Regions from separate parts of the Homo sapiens genome. Here region 2 is linked to region 1. Evidence: promoter capture Hi-C in human tissues and cell types (Jung and others, 2019). All regions are on one chromosome and are shown on one strand. Each heading gives the region's core, a stretch centred on a gene start or on the middle of the fragment in contact. The rest is flanking DNA. Distances are from core to core; before and after follow the strand shown.

Region 1 (7,449 bases), core at 294-2,793:
CTCACAGCAGATCCTGATGAGAGGGGCCCCGGTGCGGCTCCTGCTGGGTCATGCGGAGAGGTCAGGCGTGATGGGAGCTCGGGCCGCCGCGCTGACACTGCGACTGCCCCCAGCGCATTTTGGGGATGACCTCATGGATGGTAAAAGCGCCCAGCGGATTATAAGGGCCAACAAATGGGGCCTTTACTACTTGGGAGGGAAAAGGAGCGTACAGCCAGATGGGCCTAGAGTTGAATTGCAGGTCGCTGCCCTCCTGCCTCTGGGCCTCAGTTTCCTCCTCCATAGCAGAGCTTTGACCCTCGAGCTCGCTGAGATGGCACGTCCATCCCTAAGCCCTGAACTGAGCAGCAGTGATGACCAGGGAGGCACGTGTTCACCAGGCACCCACCGTGCACCGGCCCAGCATTACTGAGCACCTACTGTGCACCCGCCCAGCATTTACTGAGCACCTACTGCATGCCGGCCCTGCATTACTGAACACCTACTGCACACCAGCCCAGCATTACTGAGCACCTACTGCATACTGGCCCTGCATTACTGAGTACCTACTGCACACCAGCCCAGCATTACTGAGTACCTACTGCACACCAGCCCAGCATTACTGAGTACCTACTGCACACCAGCCCAGCATTACTGAGTACCTACTGCACACCAGCCCCACATTTACTGAGCACCTACTGCACACTGGCCCCACATTTACTGAGCACCTATTGCATCCTGGCCCAGCATTTAGTGAGCACCCACTGCACACAACCCCAGCATTACTGAGCACCTACTGTGCACTAGTCCTGCATTACTGAGCACCTGCTGCACACCAACCTGCCCCGGCCCCACATTTACTGAGCACCTATTGCATGCTGGCCCAGCATTTACTGAGCACCCACTGTACACAGACCCAGCATTACTGAGCACCCACTGCACACTGGCCCCACATTTGCTGAGCACCTACTATGTACCAGCCCTGCATTCACTAAGCACCTACTGTACACCAGCCCTGTATTACTGAGCACCCACTGCACACTGACCCTACATTTACTGAGCACCTATTGCATGCTGGCCCAGCATTTACTTCACTCCCACTGCACACCGCCCCAGCATTACTGAGTACCTACCGTGTACTGGCCCTGCATTCACTGAGCACCTACTCTACACCGGCCCTGTATTACTGAGCACCCACTGCACACCGACCCCACGTTTACTAAGCACCTATTGCTTACTGGCCCAGCATTTACTGAGCACCCACTGCACACCGCCCCAGCATTACTGAGTACCTATTGCACACCAGCCCCACATTTACTGAGCACCTATTGCATTCTGGCCCAGCATCACTGAGCACCTACTGTGTACCAGCCCTGCATTACTGAGCACCTGCTGCACACCAACCCTGCATTTACTGAGCACCTACTGCATGCTGGCTTAGCACTTCCCCGGCACCTACCACAGGTGGCCCACAGAAAGGTGAAGTCGTGTGCCCAGGTCATGCCGGAGGGAAGGCTGCCCTCCTCACCATGAAGCTGAGCTCCCAGAAGGGAAAAGCGTAAGCCCTGAGGTTGGCCACTTCCTCTCTGGGACCCTTGGCCAGACCATGGGGCTGCCCTGAGCCTCAGTTTCCCTATATGTCCCAGAGGAAGTAACAGGCCACTAGCATGAGGCCTGGCCGGGAACTGATGGGGGGAGTGAGGCCAGGGGGTTAAGCAGCCCACCCAGGGTCCTGCAGCGGCCCCCACGCTGGCCACGGTGCTCCCTGGCCACTCCCTGGTGCCCTCCACGGGAGTGTGTGTCACACTACCAGCACACGAGTGGCACGTAGTAAGGCCTCAGGCTCCTCACTGGGGCAGGGAATCGAACCCACCCCAGAGCCGGCAGCAGGGCTGACAGCCTTCTTCTGTAAGGGGCCAGATAGTGAACATTTCAGCTTTGCGTGGCAGCCTCCATCCTGACATTCAGCTCTACGGTTCTGGTCGGAAGCTGCCACAGGCCACATGTCAGCGGACTGATGTGGTTATGTTCCGATAAAGCTTTATTTACAAAAGCAGGCAGCAGGTCGTATTTGACCCTCAGGCTGACTGTGGGGCCTTGCCTGTGGGATTGTGGGGAGAGAAATACCACCACTGGCCCCGAGCAGCAACTGTCACCTGTAATCCCAGCAGTTTGGGAGGCTGAGGCAGGAGGATCGCTTGAGCCCAGGAGGTGGAGGCTGCTGTGAGCCCTGATTGTACCACTGCTCTCCAGCCTGCACAACACAGTGAGACCCTGTCTCAAAAAAAAAAAAAAAAGAAAAAATGCAATGTCAGCTGTGTTAAATGTTCAGCACAGACTGGGCGCAGTGGCTCACACCTGTAATCCCAGCACTTTGGGAGGCCGAGGTGGGCGGACCACGAGGTCACTCGAGATCCAGACCATCCTGGCCGACATGGTGAAACCCCGTCTCTACTAAAAATACAAAAATTAGCTGGGTGTGGTAACACACGCCTGTAATCCCAGCAGCTCAGGAGGCTGAGGCAGGAGAATCGCTTGAACCCGGGAGGTGGAGGTTGCTGTGAGCTGAGATTGTGCCACTGCACTCCAGCCTGACAACAGAGTGAGACACTGTCTCAAAAAAAGAAAGAGGGCCGGGCGCGGTGGCTCACGCCTGTAATCCCAGCACTTTGGGAGGCCGAGGCGGGTGGATCACGAGGTCAGGAGATCGAGACCATCCCGGCTAAAACGGTGAAACCCCGTCTCTACTAAAAATACAAAAAATTAGCCGGGCATAGTGGCGGACGCCTGTAGTCCCAGCTACTTGGGAGGCTGAGGCAGGAGAATGGCGTGAACCCGGGAGGCGGAGCTTGCAGTGAGCCGAGATCCCGCCACTGCACTCCAGCCCGGGCGACAGAGCGAGACTCCGTCTCAAAAAAAAAAAAAAAAGGAAGAAAGAAAGAAAGAAAAGAAAAAAACAAATGTCAGTTGTGTTAAATGTTGGGCACAGTATTTGGCCACATGTAAACAGGCGCTGCTGCTGCAGGGAGGGAGACCAGAGGGTCCTGGTGTTGTGGGACAAAGAGTGGAGAGACCGAAAAAGGTTCAGGAGAGTTTATCAAGGTGATCACCGGCTCAGCTGGACATACATCCAGAAAGTCTGAGCCTCGAACAAAGGGCTTTTCCTATTTTTAAACATCGTAAGGCGGGAACTACGTGAGGCGGGAAGCAAGTTACAGAGGCGAGAAACAAAGGCAGTTAAGCATTACAGCATTTCTTTTTTCTTTTTCTTTTTTTTTTTTTTGAGACGGAGTCTCGCTCTGTCGCCCAGGCTGGAGTGCAGTGGCGCCATCTTGGCTCACCGCAACCTCCACCTCCCAGGTTCAAGCGATTCTCCTGCCTCAGACTCCCGAGTAGCTGGGACTACAGACGTGTACCACCACGTCCCGCTAATTTTTGTATTTTTAGTAGAGATGGGGTTTCACCATGTTGGCCAGGATGGCCTCAATCTCTTGACCTTGTGATCCTCCCACCTCGGCCTCCCAAAGTGCTGGGATTACAGGCGTGAGCCACCGTGCCTGGCCAACATTTCTCACATCTTGAGAAAAACATGTCTTACAACCTAAACTTATCGGTTTTGTGACCCTGCAGCCGTGCTAGGGAGGTAAGCAGGAACTCGCTGGGCCTGTAATAAACTGAGGAATGTGGAGTTGGAGAGTATAGATAAGGTCCACTGACTACAGAGAGAAGACAGGCTGTTAACATTCTCTTTTAACTTGAGTGTAAGGGTGGGGGTCACACTTTGCAGCAACTTTAAGAGGATTTTAAAATTTCTATGACTACTACTATTAGGTTAGAGCTGATTTCACTAATTCCTTCTTCACTGGGGCCAGATGCCCCAGACAGATGCCTGCCGTTGATTCAAGACATTTACTGAGCACCTACTGTGGGCAGGGCAGTGTTCTGGGCACCAGGGCTATAACCAAGACGAACTTCCGGCCCTGGAGGGCAGGTGCTCACACTGGTGGGAGACATGAAGCTCACAGGGATGTGGGACAGCGAGTGAGACAGGATGACCACTAGGAAGAAAACAGGAGGAAAGGAGTTAGGGGTCAGGGGAGGCGACATTTGAGGAGAGACCTGGAGGAGACCAGGGAGGAGGTGAGGGAGATCTGGGGGAAGGCAGTGTCACGGCCCTTGCAGAGGCCCTGAGGCCGGTCCAGTTGGAGCTGGGAAGCCAGGGCTGGATGGGAGCTGCGGGGAGGAGAGGCCTGAGCTGGGTGGAGGCTGGGAGGGGGGAGGCCAGGCTGGGTGGGGGCTGGGAGGGGGGAGGCCAGGCTGGGTGGGGGCTGGCCAGGCTGGGTGGGGGCTGGGAGGATGGAGGCCAGGATGGGTGGGGGCTGGAAGGGGGGAGGCCCAGGCTGGGGGGTGCTGGGAGGACGGAGGCCAGGCTGGGTGGGGGCTGGGAGGGGGGAGGCCAGGATGGGTGGGGGCTGGGAGGAGGGAGGCCAGGCTGGGTGGGGGCTAGAAGGGGGGAGACCCAGGCTGGGGGGTGCTGGGAGGACGGAGGCCAGGCTGGGTGGGGGCTGGGAGGGGGGAGGCCAGGCTGGGGGGTGCTGGGAGGAGGAGGCCGAGGCTGGGTAGGGGCTGGGACGGGGGAGGCCAGGCTGGGTGGAGGCGGGGATGAGGGAGACCCAGGTTGGGAGGAGGAGGCCGAGGCTGGGGGTGCTGGTGGGGAGGGGAGGCCCGGGCTGGGCGGTGCTGGGAGGAGGGAGGCCAGGCTGGGTGGGGGCTGGGAGGAGGAGGCCCAGGCTGGGTAGAGGCTGGGAGGAGGGAGATCCAGGTTGGGAGGAGGCCCAGGCTGGGTAGAGGCTGGGAGGAGGGAGATCCAGGTTGGGAGGAGGCCGAGGCTGGGGGTGCTGGTGGGGAGGGGAGGCCCAGGCTGAGGGGGTGCTGGGAGGAGGAAGGCCTGGCTGGGTGGGTGCTGGGAGGAGGGAGCCCCGGGCTGGGGGGTGCTGGGAGGAAGGAGGCCAGGCTGGGTGGGAGCTGGGAGGAGGGAGGCCCAGGCTGGGAGTGCTGGTGGGGTGGGGAGGGGAGGCCCAGGTTGAGTAGGGGCTGGGAAGAGGGAGGCCCCGGCTGGGTAGGGGCTGGGAGGAGGGAGGCCAGGCTGGGTGGGAGCTGGGAGGAGGGGAGGTCCAGGCTGGGTAGGGGCTGGGAGGAGGGAGGCCCAGGCTGGGAGTGCTGGTGGGGTGGGGAGGGGAGGCCCAGGTTGAGTAGGGGCTGGGAAGAGGGAGGCCCGGGCTGGGTAGGGGCTGGGAGGAGGGAGGCCTGGGCTTGGGATACTGGGGGGAGGAGAGGCCAGGGCTGGGAGGGGGCTGAGAGGAGGAGGCCTGGGCTGGAGATGCTGGGGGAGGAGAGGCCCAGGCTGGGGATGCTTGGGGGAGGGAGGCCTGGGCTGGGAGGGGACTGGGAGGAGGGAGGCCTGGGCTGGGGATGCTGGGGGGAGGAGAGGCCCGGGCTGGGGATGCTTGGGGGAGGAGAGGCCCGGGCTGGGGATGCTGCGGGGAGGAGAGGCCCTAGCTGGGAGAAGGGAGGCGGGGGCTCAAGAGAGGAGCTTCAGGGATAGAGGGTGAGGAGGAGGGGAGGCCGGGGATGGGGGGTAGGAGGAGAGGGGAGGCCAGGGCTGGCTGGGGGGTCGGGGAGGCTAGGGCATAGGCCTGGCGAGGAGGGGAGGCTGGGGCTGGGTGGGCGCGCGGTCTCTGCCGGCCCCCAACGTCCCCGTCTCCGCAGGGCCGCCTTCAACAACAACGTGAGCGTGGCCTACGAGTGCCTGAGCGCCGGCGGGCGCAGGAAGAGGCCGGGGCTGGACGGGCGCACCTACAGCGAGCTGCTCAGGCGCATCTGCCGGGACGGCCAAGCCCCCGAGGAGGTGGTGGCGCCGCTGCTGCGCAAGGTGCAGTGCCGTGACCACGAGGCGGTGCCGCTGAGCGTCTTCCGCGCGGGCACACTCACCTGCTTCGTGCTGCTGGAGTTCGTGGCGCGCGCCGGCGCGCTCTTCCAGCTGCTGGAGGACTCGGCCGCCGCCGTGGCCGACCGCCGCGTGGGCCAGGCCGTGCTGGACACCCTGGAGGGCGCGCTGCAGGCCAGCGACGCCGCCGCGCCCGCGCGCTTCCTGGAGGCCGGCTCGCGCTTGGGGCCCGACAGCCTGGCGCTGGCGCTGGACCGCGCCGTCGGGGGGCGGCGGCCCAGCGCGCCCATGACCCGCGAGGAGTTTCTGGAGAGGGCCGCCGCGCTCTTCATCGCGAAGGTCAAGCCGGTGGGCTGAGGCCCGTGGGCCGCGCGGATCCGGGATCTGCGCTGGGGGGTCCCCGCGTGCGGGGCGCGCGGAGCCTTCCCTTCGCCCTGGTGAGGCCCTGCCATAACCAGGCGCCCAGCCCTGCGGAGGAGGCCGGGGCTCCCAGGAAGCGGACGCCCGGTCCCCACACAGCGCCGCGGCCGCCCCTCCACCCCCGCGGGAGCCCCTGCCCCACGCTAATAAAATGTGTTGCGAGGCTGACGCTGGTGTGTATGCGAGCGCCCGCCTCCCAGCCCCGGTGCCCGCAGAAGACGCTTTTCCCCAGCAGGTCACCCACGGCCCCGGAACCGCGGCGACTGGAGGCTGGATTCGAGGCCGGAAACGCCGGGACCCCTGGACCCGGCCTGGTGGGAGCAGCGGAGGGGGACGCCCCACGGGGCCCTGCGGAGCCTGAAGCCGGAGAGCAGGCGGCTCTTCTGGAACGCAGGGCCCGGGCCCTCCAGCCCCGCCCGGCCCAGGTATCCTCCCTGAGCCTCAGTCTCCCCAGATGTCAAATGAAGAGGCCAGCTGGGCAGATGGTAGTGACATTGGTGAGACAACAGCCCTAACACTTCCCAGGAACTGAAGTGCCTCATGTGATTGATTCCCAGGCCCAGGCAGCGGAGGTTACACCCTCAGCAAGGGCTCAGCTGGGATCTGCGCCCGGCCTGCTCCAGAACGCAGCCCACTCGCCACCGGTGGGGAGGGTCGTCCGGTATCCCCCAGTGCCCACCACCACCAACCAGAATCACTTCTCAGACTGCAAGAGCGAATCCAGCCGGGCGTGGTGGCTCACACCTGTAACCCCAGCACTTTGGGAGGCTAAGGCGGCGGATCACTTGAGGTCAGGAGTTCAAGATCAGCCTGACCAACATGGTGAAACCCTGTCTCTACTAAAAATACGAAAAAAAAAAAAAGCTGGGCTGTGGTGGCAGGCGCCTGTAATCCCAGCTACTCAGGAGGCTGAGGCAGGAGAATAACTTGAACCCAGGAGGCAGAAGTGGCAGTGAGCCGAGATTGAGCCACTGCACTCCAATCTGTGCGACAGAGTGAGACCCTGTCTCAAAAACAAAACAACAACAACAAAAAAAAAACAGGCCAGACGCAGTGGCCCACGCCTGTCATCCCAGCACTTTGGGAGGCAGAGGCAGGTGGAT
Region 2 (7,449 bases), core at 1,635-4,134, 170 kb before region 1:
CACAGACCAGCCCTTCCCCCAGGGCAGCCCCCACAGGTATAGAGTGCACCAAAAACACAAGAGGCCACCCTGCAAAGCTTAACCCAAAATGACAGGGTGGCAGGTTCCATTCGCCAAGATGGCTGCACCTACCTCTCCCATGCCCCAAGCCCTCTCCCCAGTGTGACTGAAACAACCTCCTCCTAAGAGCCATGCTTGACCCTCCTCCCACCCACACCAACTCAAGTGCCAGGCGCTTGTTGGACTACCCAGCACCCCACTCCTCCGTCTGACCAATGTTCCCTGGGCGCCCACTCTGGGCTCAGCAAGGCAGTGGCGTGGTGGTTAACCTGAGAAACAAGTTCCACCTGCCTCCACCCACATGGAGTTGCTAGTTTTGGACACAGACAACAAACAAGTGGACATGTATGGTACCGAGAAGAGAAAACAGGGCGCACGGGCTCTGCAACTGCGGGTCAGGGAAGGCCTGGGGGGCCTCAGTCGAGGTGGAACCATCGTTGGCAGCCCCCAAATGGGTAGAGTGCACCAGCAAACAGGAGCCCAGGGCCCTAGAGTAGGGGGCAGATCCGTGGGGACCACCTCACAGGGCTGTGGGACTCAGCAAGGAGGAGCATTTTATCCCAGGGACCATGAAAAGCCATGGAGGGTTTTAGGTAGGAGCAAAAGATGGTGCTCTTAGGTTTTTAAAAGATCAATCTAGTATGCCTGAGAAAAGTATGAAGCATTCCCGTCTGCCACTGTGGTGCTTATGATTATTCTGGGATACTGATACAGAATAAAGTAGCTAGTACTGATCACGTGCTATAAAGTTACAAATTGCCACTTTTACGGGTTAAAAACAGTGGAATATCGTCAACTTCACAAGATTCAACTTCCATGTACAAGCCGTTGTGGCAGGACCTCATCAGACCTCCTAGCTCTGAAGGGTGACCATTAAACTTCCCATTTCAGAGATGAGGAAAAGGAAGTTCTGAGTCACTGGGCAACCTGCCCAAGACCACACAGAACAAGTCCGGTGGTCAGACAGCTTGCCATGGCTCCTCACGCTCAGCACCTCATACTTGTTGGTCCTAACCCACCCACGTCTCTCTCTGACCAGACTCTGCATCCCTGTAGGAGAGGCCCTGTCTGCTCCATTCACTCCCAGATCCTCAGGCCGAGGACAGAGCGGGACCTCCTTAGAAAATCAAATCAAATTCACTCAACAGGGCACCACCCCAAAGTGTAAAACAGGGTTAACAGGAGCAGCCGGACCACAAGCTGCTGTGCACATTTACGGAGCTCAGCCTAGAGCAGGGCAGAACAGCCACATGGCAGCTCTGGGGGAGGCTGGCTTGGGAGTCTGACTTGTGCCATCCCAGACACAGAGCTACCTGTCAGGCCACGTGTGTTGCCCAGATTCCAGGAGCACAACTCATTCGACCACCACGTCGCTGCAGGGCCACTGGGAGACGCGGCTTCTGCCTCCGACCCTGGAGGACAGCCACCATCTGCATGGGGACTCAGTCTCCCTAAGCGTCTCAAGAAGAACTAATTCTCGATGAAGGAACTGGCCGGTGGTCTGGCCTAGTATCGAGACACCTACACCGTCTTTGGCATAAACACAGGGCCTGTTACTGCCCCTGAGGTCGTCACCAGGGGGAGAGAATGGCCAGTCCTGCCTCCCACAACGCCCAAGACATAAACACGCAACGTGGCACCACGGCCAGGCCGCAGTTCCAATCCCGGCTTCCCACGAGGCGGCTGTGCCTGGCTGGGTGGGCACCTTTTCCTTTGGGCTCTATCCCAGAGATAGGATCAGCTCTTGAGTCTGCCCGCCTGTCGTAACTTCTGCGCACAGAAGTCATGCACTGAGTCCCACTGACTGAGCACCTCGCAGCCGCCGCACCTTCACCTACATTATCTCTTTCCATCTTCACCAGGGCCCTCCAAGGTGAAAGCAAGTCCACACAGGCTCATCCACCACTCCAAAATCAAAAAAAGCTTCAAAAGCGAAAGTTTCTTCCTTCCTGGTTTGACCTGACACGAAGCTATCTGTTGTCTTATCCTAGACAGTCCTAGGTGGGTTTGATCAAACATCACAGTCCAAAATCCCACAGATCCTCAAATTGGAAAAATTCTGGATTCCAAAATATAGCTGGTCCCAAACATTTCAGATAAAGGGTCCCGGGCTTGTTTCCTGGACGAGGGAGGAGGCTCCAGAAGTAACTTCGTGCCCGGGAGAGGCTGGTCCAACTCTTCTGAGATCAGCCCCGACGCTCTCTAGGCCCCGGCAGACCCACCCACCCTGCGCCCAGTTCGCGCCAGGCGGGTCCGCGTCGGGAGTTCAAATCCCGCCCGGGGTCTGACCCAGCCCCGCCGGGGGGCTCGCGGGCGGCGGAGGCGCGGTGGGTCCACCGGGATCCCGATGGGGAGCGCGGGGCGCCTGGCGGCCCCAGCACTCGGCAAAGTTGGCAAAGGCGCGGGAGGGGAGGCCTGCGCGCCGCGGGGCCCGGGCCGGGGCCGGGAACCGGAGCCGGACCCTGGAACGGAGCCGCGCGCCCACCGGACCCCCGACACCAGCCCCGCCCCGCGTCCCTCCCCTCCCCCACCCCGGCCCCCGCCCGCCCCGCGCCGCCGCGCATGCGCACTGCAGCCCGCGATGTGGCAGCCGGGGGAGTTGGGGGGTGGGGGCCGGCCGGGGGCGGCCGCCGATGGAGCCCCGCGCCCCTCCGGCCCCGGACGGGCCAGGCGCCCCGGCCGGCCTCAGAGCTCCAGAGCGGGGCTCTCCGTCCCTGGGGCCCACGACGAGGCCGAGCCACGGCGGCGGGGGGCGCGGACGCGCGGGGGCGGGGGGCCGGCTCCCCCGGCCCGCTCACTCACCTCCGCCATGGCCGTGTGTGCGCGGGAGGCGGTGGCCGCGCCGGGATCCCCGGATGAGGGGCCGCGCACTCATTGGCTGTGGAGCCTGGAGGGCGGGGCAGGGGGCGGAGCCTGGAGGGGGCGGAGAGCGGGCCGGGCGCGTAGTAGGTGCGCGGGCGCGGGCGCGGGCGCGCAGCCGAGCGTGGCCGGCGGCTTCTGGCGAGCTTGCGGTGTCTTTCCGGCCGTCTCTGCTGGACCCTGATCTTGGCCTTGGCCTTGGCGGAGGAGACTGCATTCCATAAAAATACGAATTCCTGATAATCACACCTGCGTGGGGACCACGTGGTCCTGTGTGACCTCTTCATTCCCTCGGCTGCTCGCTGTTAATACCCCGCGTGGCAGACTAGGAAACTGAGGCCCAGGGCGACGGGCCACCCAGAGTGTCAGTGATAGAGCCAGAATTGGTGTCCGGGCTGCGTGGTTCTGGAATTTTCTGCACTTTCGCACCCGTGATGAGCAAACTAGCGCGCGGAGGAACCAATCGGGGAGCTTGCGAACGCGCACCAGTCGGAGAGGTTTTAGAAACGGTGGCCCCGCGCCGGAGAGCCCAAGGCGGGAGGCAGGGAGGTGGGCTTGACCCCAGGGCCATTTGGTTCTGCAGTCCGTCGTTTCGCAGATTGAACATTTCTGGAACACGTGCACGTTCTGATCCTGAGGGTTTGAAGGAGACAGCCCTAACGCCTGTCTTCAGGGCGTTTAGAGTGGAGGATGGGAAGGCAAGGACTCGCCACACCTTAAATTTGAGACGGATAAGTGCCGTGAATCTTCGGGGCGCACGATGCAGAGAGAGGATAGGAAGCAGGGGTGGGGCGTGAAGAGGCAGGGGCCAGGTGGGAGCTGTGGGGCCTGGACCAGAGTGCAGAGAGACTTGAGAAGGTGGACACCACAAGACTCGCTGATGGAGGGAAGCTGGAGAGAGTGAAGGATGGCCTCCAGATGTCTGGCTTGCGCAAATGAGTGGAGGGCGGTTCCTACTGAGACCAGGAAGAAGAGAACTGGAGACCAGGAAGAAGGGAATTGGGGACCAGGAGGAAGGGAATTGGGGACCAGGAAGAAGAGAATGAGTCTCATTCCTGTTTCCCAGTGATCAGCCAATGAATAGTGAGAACTTGACATGCATCAGCCTTGATTCCTGATGCAAAATCATTACTCAGTCCTCTGAGAATTCACCAACCAAGAGATAGAAGAACCACTCTGGAGGGGTCTACCCTCACTCCTTTTTTGGTTTACATCATTGAGATTGAGGGTTCTGGCCCTCGTGTTGAAGAGTCCTCACTGATTTGTGCAAGAGTTGGTTCCTTCCTTTATTATTCATTTGTTATTATTCATTCAGTCATTCAGTGAACTAAACACATATCTTATGCAGTCCTCAACTGGGTGCTGGGTAGCCAGAGGTCCTGTGAAGCAGGGAGAAGCATGAACAGATAAGAGAGTGAGGTGCTGTGCTGTAACAGGTGGAGGGGCCCGAAGACAAGGGCTTGAGTCCACCTGGCAAAACGAGGGAAGACTCTTAGGAGAGGGCTTGGCAAGAATCATCACATAGATGTCAAATGAGGACTTGGGTGAAGAGAAGGGTATTGTGGCTTGGAACGGTGACTCACACCTCTAATCCTAACACTTGGGGAGGCAGAGGCAGGAGGATCACTTGAGGTCAGGAGTTTGAGACCAGCCTGGGCAACAGGGTGAAACCCTGTCTCTACTAAAAATACAAAAATTATCCGGGCGTGGTGGCGAGTGCCCATAATCCCAGCTATTCTGTGGAGGCTAAGGCAAGAGAATCACTTGAACCTGGGAAGGCAGAGGTTGCAGTGAGCTAAGATCACTGCACTCCAGCCTGGGAAACAGAGTGAGACACTGTTTCAAAAAAAAAAAAAAAAAACTTTAAACATTAGAGGGCATGACGATAATGTGCCTGTAGTCCCAGCTACTCTGGAGGCCGAAGTGGGAGGATCTCTTGAGCCCAGGAGGTCGAGGCTGCGGTAAGCAGTGATTGTGCCACTGCACCCCAGCCTGGGCAACAGAGTGAGACCTGTCTCAAAAAAAAAAAAAAAAAAGAGTGAAGGATATTTTAAGGTCTGAAAGTCTGTCTCCGTAGACTGTTAGTCGCAGTGGAGAAATGAAGCCACTTGTTGGGTGGGTGATAAAACTCAGCATCCCTGGTAAAGGGCAGGTGCACACCATGTGCACCTGGATGTGGTGTCCAAAGCAGGACACGGCATCACTGAATCCAGCCAGCAATGCACAACCCATATCTACATATGAGGAAATTTCAGACAAACCCAAATAAGGAATATTCTGTTAAACAAAAGAGGGACTGTATTCTTCAGAAATGTTAATGCCACAATGGGGCGTGGTGGCGGGTGCCTGTAATCCCAGCTGCTCAGGAGGCTGAGGCAGGAGAATCACTTGAACCCGAGAGGCGGAGGTTGCAGTGAGCTGAGATTGCGCCACTACACTCCAGCCTGGGCGACAAGAGCAAAACTCCATCTCAAAACAAAACAGGCCAGGCGCTGTGGCTCACACCTGTAATCCCAGCACTTTGGGAGGCTGAAGCAGGAAGATCACGAGGTCAGGAGTTCAAGACCAGCCTAGCTAGCATGGTGAAACCTGATCTCTACTAAAATAATACAAAAAATTAGCCGGGCGTGGTGGTGCACACCTGTAGTCCCAACTACTCGGGAGGCTGAGGCAAGAGAATCGCTTGAAACCGGGAGGTGGAGGCTGCAGTGAGCCGAGATGGCACCATTGCATTCCAGCCTGGGCGACAGAGCAAGACTCCGTCTCAAAAAAAAAAAAAAAACCACAGCGACAACAACAAAAAAAAGTTAATGCCAGAAAAGATAAACCTGTGTAAATCTTTTTTTTTTTTTTTTTTTTTTTGAGATGGATTCTCGCTCTGTTGCCCAGGCTGGAGTGCAGTGGCACAATCTTGGCTCACTGCAAGCCCCACCTCCCGGGTTCACGCCATTCTCCTGGCTCAGCCTCTGGAGTAGCTGGGACTGCAGGCATGTGCCGCACCTGGCTAATTTTTGTATTTTTAGTAGAGATGGGGTTTCACCATGTTGGCCAGGATGGTCTCGATCTGTTGACCTCGTGATCCACCCACCTCACCCTCCCAAAGTGCTGGGATTACAGGCGTGAGCCATAGCACCCGGCCAGTACGGAGGGTTTCTACTATACTCATTCTTGCAATTATTCCATGAGCATAAAATGAAGTAAAACTCAGAAAATAAAGAGCAGCGAATCTTGAGCAGGGAGCTTAAGGGGAGAGGCTGGAGAGGGTGCCCCTGGCCGTGGCACAGTGGTTTGAGTGGACACCTCACGTTGGAGGAGATACGCCTGCATGTGCCTCCACTCCAGGCTCCCTGTTTCTTCTCTGCCTGGTTTTCATGGTCACCGGGCAGCTCCCAAGTTTGACAGAGGCATGGTGTCCCGGGATGAGGGTCCAGGTCACCGCATCGCTACACCTCTTGGAGCAGATGGAGACTGCGTGGTGGAGCTGGGGGTGATGAATCCATTGCAGCCCCGAGGCGGGGAGGCAGGGGACGCTGTAGTTCACCCAAGCAGTGTCGTTCTTGCAAATTTTCCCTAGAAAAAAGAGGCCTCACAAGATACTGGAGGAGCTGTGAGTAGTGCATGGGGTGGCCTGTGGTGGATGCTGGGTGCATCATCAAACCCTCCCCTACACAAGCACTAACTTCCCCCTCTGCTCAGGGTCAAGTATCCCTCTGAGGGGCGGCCCACATCAGCGACTGGCTGGTACAGATCCATAAAGACCCAGGCACCTGTGACCAACTGGGGTCAACCGTGAGGCTGCAGAGCTCCTGTAGGATTGGAGGCGGCTTGGTCATCTCAGCTCGCTCCTCCCTCCCTCCAGCCCTGCTTCCTTCACTCTCTGACAGGTGTTGACCCCAAGGGTAACCCCGACAATATTCCTGCACATAATCTTTGTCTCGCAGTCTATTTCCTGGAGACCTAACCCGTGCCACAAAACATGAGTCACATTTTGAAAGGTTTAAAAAAACAAACAAGGCCCGGCGTGGTGGCTCACGCCTGTAATCCCAGCACTTTGGGAGGCCGAGGCGGGCGGATCACAAGGTCAAGAGATCAAGACCAGCCTGGCCAACCCGGTGAAACCCCATCTCTACTAAAAATACAAAGATTAGCCGGGCGTGGTGGCGGGCGCCTGTAATCCCAGCTACTCGGGAGGCTGAGGCAGGAGAATGGCGTGAACCTGGGAGGCGGAGCTTGCAGTGAGCCGAGATCGCGCCACTGCACTCCAGCCTGGGCGACAGAGCGAGACTCCGTCTCAAAAAAAAAAAAAAAACTTAGTCTATTCGTGCTGCTGTAATAAAGCACCACGGATGAGGTAGTTTATATATACATATTTTAAGAACACATTTATTTATCACAGTTCTGGAGGCTGGAAAGCCTTGATCAAGGCGCCGGCAGTTTTGGTGTCTGGTGAGAGCCTGGTCTCTGCTCCCAAAATGGTGCCTTGGTACAGCATCCTCCAAAGGGAGGAACACTGAACCCTCACATGGCAGA

The links. The method cuts DNA at HindIII sites, captures the fragments that hold promoters and counts their contacts. A contact is called where the count stands out against the background at its distance.
Region 2: the fragment with the promoter of MIER2 here is called in contact with a fragment that was not itself captured in region 1 in 3 of the 25 tissues and cell types used here (IMR-90 fibroblasts, dorsolateral prefrontal cortex and lymphoblastoid cells).

The regions. Positions count from the first base shown.
Region 1 is chr19:513,141-520,589 of GRCh38, forward strand. TPGS1 (tubulin polyglutamylase complex subunit 1) reads left to right here. Exons shown (of 2, transcript NM_033513.3): 2 at 5,749-6,514. The coding sequence ends at 6,283. Among named protein-coding and RNA genes, the nearest start is that of MADCAM1-AS1, 9.0 kb to the left of the region's middle. RefSeq lists an enhancer at 5,318-6,224. The HindIII fragment of the contact is 7,591 bases long and covers 1-5,339 here.
Region 2 is chr19:341,912-349,360 of GRCh38, forward strand. It overlaps MIER2 (MIER family member 2), which reads right to left and starts at 2,885. Exons shown (of 14, transcript NM_017550.3): 1 at 2,863-2,885. The coding sequence starts at 2,871. RefSeq lists an enhancer at 990-1,941 and silencers at 2,250-2,359, 2,660-2,709, 2,780-3,229. The HindIII fragment of the contact is 27,379 bases long and covers 1,031-7,449 here.